Linked DNA regions of Homo sapiens: regions 1 and 3 are each linked to region 2. Evidence: promoter capture Hi-C in 16 types of primary human blood cells and fetal thymus (Javierre and others, 2016). All regions are on one chromosome and are shown on one strand. The core of a region is centred on a gene start or on the middle of the fragment in contact, and the rest is flanking DNA. Distances in the headings are between cores, read along the strand shown.

Evidence for each region. The method cuts DNA at HindIII sites, captures the fragments that hold promoters and counts their contacts. A CHiCAGO score of 5 or more calls a contact.
Region 1: the fragment with the promoter of SPAG5 here is called in contact with the fragment with the promoter of DHRS13 in region 2 in 6 of 17 cell types (fetal thymus, erythroblasts, activated CD4 T cells and 3 more); the score reaches 11.7 in fetal thymus.
Region 3: a contact is called between the fragment with the promoter of ALDOC here and the fragment with the promoter of DHRS13 in region 2, in 2 of 17 cell types (non-activated CD4 T cells and fetal thymus). The highest score is 6.6, in non-activated CD4 T cells.

What each region holds. Positions count from the first base shown.
Region 1 is chr17:28,597,741-28,600,699 of GRCh38, reverse strand. It overlaps SPAG5 (sperm associated antigen 5), which reads left to right and starts at 1,675. Exons shown (of 24, transcript NM_006461.4): 1 at 1,675-1,804; 2 at 2,065-2,190. The coding sequence starts at 1,754. It overlaps SPAG5-AS1 (SPAG5 antisense RNA 1), which reads right to left and starts at 1,567. Exons shown (of 3, transcript NR_040012.1): 1 at 1,454-1,567; 2 at 845-1,002. RefSeq lists enhancers at 1,165-1,244, 1,469-2,013 and a silencer at 1,455-1,764. The HindIII fragment of the contact is 7,511 bases long and covers 1-2,959 here.
Region 2 is chr17:28,901,564-28,904,348 of GRCh38, reverse strand. It overlaps DHRS13 (dehydrogenase/reductase 13), which reads left to right and starts at 1,270. Exons shown (of 5, transcript NM_144683.4): 1 at 1,270-1,531; 2 at 1,648-1,766; 3 at 2,733-2,785. The coding sequence starts at 1,405. RefSeq lists silencers at 1,048-1,677, 2,179-2,371. The HindIII fragment of the contact is 5,010 bases long and covers 1-2,192 here.
Region 3 is chr17:28,575,446-28,578,496 of GRCh38, reverse strand. It overlaps ALDOC (aldolase, fructose-bisphosphate C), which reads left to right and starts at 1,602. Exons shown (of 9, transcript NM_005165.3): 1 at 1,602-1,696; 2 at 2,953-3,051. The coding sequence starts at 2,965. It overlaps SPAG5 (sperm associated antigen 5), which reads left to right. Exons shown (of 24, transcript NM_006461.4): 21 at 1-124; 22 at 205-279; 23 at 407-487; 24 at 727-923. The coding sequence ends at 798. RefSeq lists an enhancer at 1,200-1,379 and a silencer at 1,430-1,669. The HindIII fragment of the contact is 1,455 bases long and covers 1,334-2,788 here.

The DNA.
Region 1 (2,959 bases), core at 426-2,925, 300 kb after region 2:
AGTGGGATGATCATAGCTCACAGCAGCCTTGAACTAGGTTCAAGCGATCCTCCCAAGCTGGGATTATAGGTGTGTGCCCCCAACCCTGCCACCCCTGGCTTAACTTTTTTTTTTTTTTGAGACGGAGTCTAGCTCTGTCACCCAGGCTGGAGTGTAGTGGTGCCATCTCAGCTCACTGCAACCTCCGCCTCCCAGGTTCAAGAGATTCTTCCTGCCTCAGCCTCCCAAGTAGCTGGGATTACAGGCGTGTGCCACCACACCTGGCTAATTTTTGTATTTTTAGTAGAAACGGGGTTTCGCCGTGTTGGGCAGGCTGGTCTCGAACTCCTGACCTCAGGTGATCCGCCTGCCTCGGCCTCCCGAAGTGCGGGATTATAGGCGTGAGCCACCGTGCCCGGCCCAAATTTTTTTTTTGTAGACATAGGTCTCACTATATTGCCGAGGCAGGTCTCGAACTCCTGGGCTTAAAGGATCCTCCTGCCTCTGTCTCCTCCGTGCTGGGATTACAGGCATGAGCCACCGCACCTGGCGATATTTTGCATTCTTTTTTTCATACGACGTGTTTGAAATCCAGTTTGTACAGTGTTTTACATTTATAGCACATTCCCACTGGGACTAGTCACATCTGAAGTGCTCAAAAGCCACTATGGCTAGGGCTAACGTACTGGACAACACAATGCTAGAGGAGCCCGTCCCTGAGGACGCTGCAGTTTATAACATCATAGTTCCTCCTCTTTGGACTGCTGCTTTCCCCCTATGTATTAAGACTTGCAGAGTGTAAACAGGGCGCCGTGAGTGTGCAAAGCACACACACCTTCGCAAACGGCTCACTCTGAATACTGACCTTTCGGCTGTCCTACCTTCAACAGGTTTCCCGTGCATAGGAGATCCAAGACAGCAGAAGGCAGGAGCTGGCGGGACAGGGAGGAAGAGCGGCTCTGCCGTTTACTATCTGTGTGACGCTGAGCAAATTACACACGGTCTCTCTGACTCAGCTCCTTCCTGTCACAAATGGGGATATTTATAGTATTTCTCACTACGTAGGTCCTTATGCGCATTAAATGAGCTACTACACGGCATTCGGCATAGCGCCAGGCACACACTCAATGTTCAATACATGTAGGCGGTTAGCCCAGTAAACTGGTAGCCGGCCTGAGTAAGTCCCAGGAAAAGCCCAGAAACTCTGGAGACATTACAGCCCAGGTCGAGAACCACGGCCCGGGCCGTCCCGGACGCGGGCCCACCAAGCCTAGGGAAGCCGCTCGGCACCGCTTCGGCTTCTAGACTCCCTGGCCGGCTCTTTCCCGTCAAGGCTGCGGCTGGAGAGGACTGAGGGAGACCTAGGGAGAGGATTCCTCTTCTCCATCCACGGAGACAACTTGGATATGAACACCATGGATGTGAGGAGGTCCGCTGGAAGCAGGAGGGATGGACTCCTGGACTCTCCAGCTACCTGCGTGGTCCTCCCCGGTGTGAGGACAGAAGACCGGTCCTGGGCCGGGCCCGCATCCAGCCCTACCGCCGGTGTCTGAGGTGAGGGCTCCGTCAGCGGAAAACGCTCGACAACGGAGGGGCAGGCAGGGCCGGGGGCGTGGTCAACGCGGGCCCCGCCCCCCGGGCTCTACCCCCGAGCGTACGCGCGCGCCTGAAGCAGCCAACCAGGAAGCGCAGAGCAGGTTCAAACACAGACGGCGGGTGAACATGGCGTCCTCGACTTGGTCTGAGACGTGATAGGCCTGCCTTCTGGTTGAAGATGTGGCGAGTGAAAAAACTGAGCCTCAGCCTGTCGCCTTCGCCCCAGACGGTAAGCGGGAGATCTCTGGCGGAGAGAACTGGGCCGGGCTGCTGTCGCGGGGGCACCGGCCGTGTCTACTGTCCTGGAAAGTTGGGTCGAGCCCGGGGTTGGGGGCTTGTGGAGTCTTTGTTCGCCTTGCTGCTCCTGCGCGACTAGGGTGCGAGCGTACTCTTCTAATCGCATTTTGGGCTTCTTAGGGAGGGAGGAGGGGCGGGCTGGCAGAACCCAGGCTTCCTCACACTCGCCCTCTTTCTTGGTTTCTTTCTCAGGGAAAACCATCTATGAGAACTCCTCTCCGTGAACTTACCCTGCAGCCCGGTGCCCTCACCAACTCTGGAAAAAGATCCCCCGCTTGCTCCTCGCTGACCCCATCACTGTGCAAGCTGGGGCTGCAGGTGAGATTCGCCTGGACAGCTTCTCGACTGGGCTGTTTGCCCAGGGTGAGAGCTCAGGGGAACAGAGGGCCAGGGCTACAATAATTAATAACGATAATGAAGTCTTCTACGTCGGTGACATCCATTTACAGCTATTCAGGCCAACAGAGAGGTGCCCTAGGGTGGTTAAAGGAAATCCAGTGAGAACTTGAATCTCTGTTTAGCTGTTAGTTTTTATTACCTCCTCCTCCTCCCTTCGACCTTTATCAAACTATTGAGAAATCCTACCACCCTGATTAGTGCTCTTCCTCCAACATGGGGTCACTTACGGAAAGGTCAGTCACCTGCAAGATTGAGGCAATATCCATTTACTCTAGGAGGTAGTTAGAACTCTCCTGGGATCAAGTTACACCACTGGAAGGTAGGGTACTTGAATCACCTTAGTTTAAACTAGCTCCTTGCAGAATTGCCCTCACTGATTTGTACTTTTGTTAAACGTTTTGAGAGACGTAGCCATGTAGAAACTGCATTTCAGTTGCTGTCAAAACTTGTCAAGGAAGCAGCTTGACTCCTGTATAAGATTCCTCCAAGAAAGGCTTTAGGACTAACTGCCTGGAAAAATTGTCTTCCTGAAGAAATTGCTATCCTTTTCTTTCTGATAATGAGAACTATGTAGTTTACCATATTTTCCCTCTTGCTCTGCCTTCTAGAAAGCTCAAGGCCAAACTGGATCATCACATACAGCTACTGTTATAGCTGTATAGGAAGTTTTGCTTCCTCTTTTTTGACC
Region 2 (2,785 bases), core at 21-2,520:
CTCTGCCTGTCTCTTATCACCTATGAGAACCATTCCAAAGGCAAATTTCCTCCTGAAAGGCAATAACAGATTTTACTCTCTATCTCTTCCTGCTTCCCTTCAGCCATGGAAGGCACTAGTGGGGTTGAGGTAGGGAGATACAGAGGGGGAATGAAGGAGTGAATTCTGACACCCCTTAACTGCCTGTGCCACCTTTAACAGTGTCCTCTCTAGCCTGTGTGGGGAGAACACGGAAGAATCCTAGAAGCTGGGGGCTGGATGTGAAGATAAGAAAACGAAGGATTTGGCCCAGTGCAGAGGCTCACACCTGTAATCCCAGCACTTTGAGAGGCTGAGGCAGGTGGGTCACTTAAGGTCAGAAGTTTGAGACCAACCTGGCCAACATAGTGAAAACCCTTCTCTACTAAAATACAAAAATTAGCCGGGTGTGGTGTCACACACCTGTGATCCCAGCTACTCTGGATTCTGAGGCAGGAGAATTGCTTGAACCCGGGAAGCGGAGGTTGCAGTGAGCCGGGATCACGCCACTGCACTCCAGCCTGGGCAACGAGAGTGAAACTCCGTCTCAAAAGAAAGAAAGAAAGGAAAGAAGGAAGGAAGGGAGGGAGGGAAGGAAGGAAGGAAGGAAGGGAGGAAGGAAGGAAGGGAAGGAAGGAAGGAAGGAAGGAAGGAAGGAAAGGAAAGGAAGGAAAGGAGAAGGATTTGTGCAGAAGGGAAGGAAGGAGAAGGATTTGTTCTTAGAGGGAAAAGCATCTAGGACTAGACTCAAAGACACACGTGTATTCATGTACACACCTAACTTCAGAAGGGAGGGACTGTGCTACATACACCTCGAGTAAACATATGGAGATATGCAAGCACATGCACTGGCAGAGACTACAGATGCAGGCACATACCTGGAGGGACTCTGCCAGAATGCACACAAACACCTACAAGGTGCTTACAGGAGCTCACACACAGGATCCAGAGGCACGCACACAACCCAAAGGGTGATCCTCAGGGACATGGGCACATACACACCTAGAGATCATTCACATACAAGCGTTGCAGATGCATGCACATACCTAGCGTGCACTCACAGGGTGTACGTGGACACACACACCCAGGAGTTCACACAGGCACACACCTAGGGGGCGCTCCCAGGGCCCAAGCGCACACACTCACCTCAAAGGTGTCCACAGAGGCACACGCCCCCAGGACGCCGACGCACGCCTAGGGGGCGCTCGCAGGGCCGGCGCGCACCCGCACGCGCACACGCCCCTGCCCAGCCTCCTGCCCGCCTCCGCCTTCGGAGGCTGACGCGCCCGGGCGCCGTTCCAGGCCTGTGCAGGGCGGATCGGCAGCCGCCTGGCGGCGATCCAGGGCGGTGCGGGGCCTGGGCGGGAGCCGGGAGGCGCGGCCGGCATGGAGGCGCTGCTGCTGGGCGCGGGGTTGCTGCTGGGCGCTTACGTGCTTGTCTACTACAACCTGGTGAAGGCCCCGCCGTGCGGCGGCATGGGCAACCTGCGGGGCCGCACGGCCGTGGTCACGGGTGAGTGCGGAGGCGGGTGAGTGCGAGCTGGCGGGGCGCGCGGAGAGGAGGCCGGGCCGGCGGTAGCAGCGGCCCGCCGGGCTCAGCTCAGCTCGGCTCCCGCCCGCGGTCCGCAGGCGCCAACAGCGGCATCGGAAAGATGACGGCGCTGGAGCTGGCGCGCCGGGGAGCGCGCGTGGTGCTGGCCTGCCGCAGCCAGGAGCGCGGGGAGGCGGCTGCCTTCGACCTCCGCCAGGTGAGAGGCAGCGGGGGCGCGTGGGACGGTGAGCCGAGAACCCGCCGGGACACAGAGAAGCCAGCAAAGGGGCTGCGGAGGATCCGGGTCCAGGGAGGAGAGCGCGGCGCGGGCGGCTGAGCGCGAAGAGGGAGTGCACGGAGCGCTGGGGTCACCCGAGGAAGGCGCACCAGAGCCGAGTGGGGGAGGGGCTTCCTGAAGGCCGTAATTGCAGTTCTGAGACGTTTAAGCATCAGTAGAAGTTGGGTTAATGATCAGTAGGAAAGGGAACAGCAGAGGGCACAGCATAAGCAAAGGCTCTGAGGCAAAGAGAGCTGGACTGATCTGAAAAACTGAGAAAAAGATTTAATGAGGCTGGAGCACAAAGTATGAGGAAGATGGGCAAATGAGGGGGCTGGAGAACATTCTAGAGCCTATTGAGAAGCTTGGATTTTATAGATTGGGCAGCAGAGACCAGTGGAGACCATGAACAGCCCTCAGTAGGCTCCGGACTGTCAGAATAGCCTTTGGAAGGAACTCCTTTGTGGCTGCGTGGTGCCTGGAGTGGGGGGGCAAGAGCGGGAGAGAGGAGACCAGTGAGAAGTTACAGATTTTAGGGTAAATGGTAATGGGGAAAGGAGGTGATAATAATAATAGCAAGTACCTACCCAGTGCTGCTAGAGTGTATTTTACACGTTAACTCCTTTCATCCTCACAAAAGCTCAGTGAGATTGGGACTGTTGTTATTATTATTCCCTTTACGCAGTGAGAGAACTGAGACCCAGAGAGATTAAGTATCTTGCCCAAGGTCACACTTTAGTAAAAGGCAAAGTCAGGATTTGAATCCACACACTTATCTAGTACACTCTAAGACACAGGGGCAGATTTTAGTAAACAGTAGGAGATGGACTCTCAGAATTTGGTGCCTGGGGAGAGGGAAGAGGAGAGAGATGCCTGGTGACAAGCCCAGCCCTTGCCTCTCCACAGGAGAGTGGGAACAATGAGGTCATCTTCATGGCCTTGGACTTGGCCAGTCTGGC
Region 3 (3,051 bases), core at 353-2,852, 330 kb after region 2:
CTCACTTCGGCGTGCGGAGACAGAGACCAAAGTGCTCCAGGAGGCCCTGGCAGGCCAGCTGGACTCCAACTGCCAGCCTATGGCCACCAATTGGATCCAGGAGAAAGTGTGGCTCTCTCAGGAGGTGACTCAGAGTTAACAGAGGAGCTGGACAGCAGGTGGGGACCCCAGGCTGTACCCCTGTTGATCTGGACATATTTCTAGGTGGACAAACTGAGAGTGATGTTCCTGGAGATGAAAAATGAGAAGGAAAAACTCATGATCAAGTTCCAGAGCCATGTAAGAATGTCCATGCCATTCCAGGGCCATTTCCTACCATCGTTAACAAATGCCCCGCCATGTTTCCCCTGTCCTACCAAGTTTGCTCTTTTATGCATAGGACTTATAAAATCTGTTTGCTTTCTAGAGAAATATCCTAGAGGAGAACCTTCGGCGCTCTGACAAGGAGTTAGAAAAACTAGATGACATTGTTCAGCATATTTATAAGGTATAGGCAGGAGGGAGGTGATATCACTAATGAACCTGGTACAAGGCCTGGCCCCAGGAGGTACTAATGAGCACAGATCTGGTTCCCAGCCTGTGCTGAGAGCTGGGCCTGAATCACTATTGCAGGCTTCTCTGTGGTGTCTGTTTTCTCCCCTCTAATTCAGCGGCTGCCTCCTGGGGCTGGGAGCCCTGGGCCTTAAGTCTGTGGTCCTGAGCTGCGTTTTCTGCCTCTCTTCCCAGACCCTGCTCTCTATTCCAGAGGTGGTGAGGGGATGCAAAGAACTACAGGGATTGCTGGAATTTCTGAGCTAAGAAACTGAAAGCCAGAATCTGCTTCACCTCTTTTTACCTGCAATACCCCCTTACCCCAATACCAAGACCAACTGGCATAGAGCCAACTGAGATAAATGCTATTTAAATAAAGTGTATTTAATGAATTTCTCCAAGCTTACGGAATCTTACTTTTTGGGTGAGAGGGGGCGGATGATGAAGTCAGGGAAGAAGCAGCTTGGGCCTCCTGCCTGGGCACCCTCCATAGATCCCTCTCCACCTCCTGCTGCATCCAAAGCCAAGGCTGCCTGCCCTTCCTCCCTTCCTCTGCTTTCACCAAAACTCTGGGCACTGGACTGCTTGTTCCCTGGCTCACCGCCTGGAGGAAACAGAAAGGCTTCATTCTCTTACTTTCCCCAGCCCCCTCGGGGGTATACCCTGGCAAATATGGGGGTGAGGACAGAGAAGCTCAGTTCATTACTTCCTGCCCTGAACTTGGGCACCTTGAAGATGCTTCTGCCCCACCTACTCAACCTGTTGTTACTGTTCTGGTGCCTCCTCTTCACCAGACTAAGCTTAATCCCCAGCATCCAGCAAGTGCCCGGCACGTGGTAAAGGGATTGTGGCAGAAATGAACGCAAGGTCATGGCCAGGCTCCCCGAGGTGGGAGGGCAGTCCCTAACAGCCACGGATGCCTGGCGGGGCGCTCACTCCACCTCGCCGCCCCGCCTCTGAGGGCGTGGTCTTGCCCCGGACACCAGTCCTGGGGAGGGGGTGTGGTCAGGGCGGGGCATGCAGGCCACGCCCCCGGAGGAGTCACGTAGCTCTGCGACATCCGCAGCCTCATTTACCAGAGGGAGCCAGGGCTGCAGCCTCATCTGTTTGCGGATCAGAACCCGAGCTGTGCTTGTGGCTGCGGCTGCTAACTGGCTGCGCACAGGTAAGGCCAGGCAAGGCGGGAGCCACTCAACATCTCCGCTTCATTTCCTTGGCTCTTCCCCTGCCATCCTCGTCCTGCTACCTGGGACTCCGGGATGTGCCCTTTCGACCCTTTCCTAACATCTTTGCTCCTTTCCGCGTACTTGAAACCCCATGGCTCAACCTCTTCTGTTCTATCCCTCTTCAGCTCTCCCAGCTGGACCTCAGCTTTTCCAATCCCAAATCCTCCTCTACTTGTTGGATTTTTCCTTGGAGTCTGTCTCTCCTACCCAGAGCATTTCCTTCTCAGCCTGCTCCCTCTCCTCCTAGGCTAGGTCCTCTCTCCAGTTCTCCCGCCTTCTCTGCCCCCCGGTCTAGGTCTCTCCCGCTGACTGGTTAGCCTGCATCACCACTAGCTCCCCTCAGTCTCATCTCTCTCTCAGGCTCTCTACTCCTTTCAGCCTTGGTCCTCTGCCCTCCCGTCTGGGTGTCTGAGTTGTGGGGAATTGAAGTGCTTCCTATTGCTATCCTCCTGCCAAACAGGTGAAGTGCTTCCTGGGCACAGAGATGACCCGGAGGTGTCACTAGCCCTAGTCTCCACACACTAACACAGCTGACCCGCTGGGCCCTCTTTCCTACATCACTGCAGCCCCACTGGGGCCAACCTCTGGTACTGGGTGGGAATAGGCAATAGGCATAGGCAGGCAGGTTTGGAGTACAGAAAAGGAGAAGCTGCAGGAGCCTGTGACTGGTATTTGTGCCACTCCTACTCCCTACCTGTTCTTCCAACCTTTTCCTCTAGAAGCTGAGAGAAGAGGGTGGCAATAAGTACTTTTGCCTCATTCTGAAGCCTTGGAAGTAAGTACACTTTCCCTAGGGGTCCTGTGGAGGATGAGAAAAGGGAAGCTGGAAAGGCCAGGACTTTTGCCTACCTCAACAAGGGACCAAGTTCAGTGAAAGAAGGGTTGGCATCCTTGATTGGGCAGCAGATTTATCAGAAGAGCTGTGGCTTCAGGGCTGCTCACCTCCCCACCCCCACCCTGCATCTTTCCCCAGGGCTGGGAAGGATGCCTACCAGGGACAAAAGGAGATGTGGGAACTGGAGCCCTAAGCTTGCTAGCTGTCAGAAGGACTGGTGCCACTTGATGCCCAGGACTCATGCCAAGGACTGCTGCCCTGTTCCCAGCCCCTTGCTTGATGGGGAGGCCATTTGGCCCATCTGGCCAGGAGAGGCAGCAGAGGGTGAGGTCTGGCTTTTTTATCTTGTCTCCACTCCAGGGAGCTGTCACCATGCCTCACTCGTACCCAGCCCTTTCTGCTGAGCAGAAGAAGGAGTTGTCTGACATTGCCCTGCGGATTGTAGCCCCGGGCAAAGGC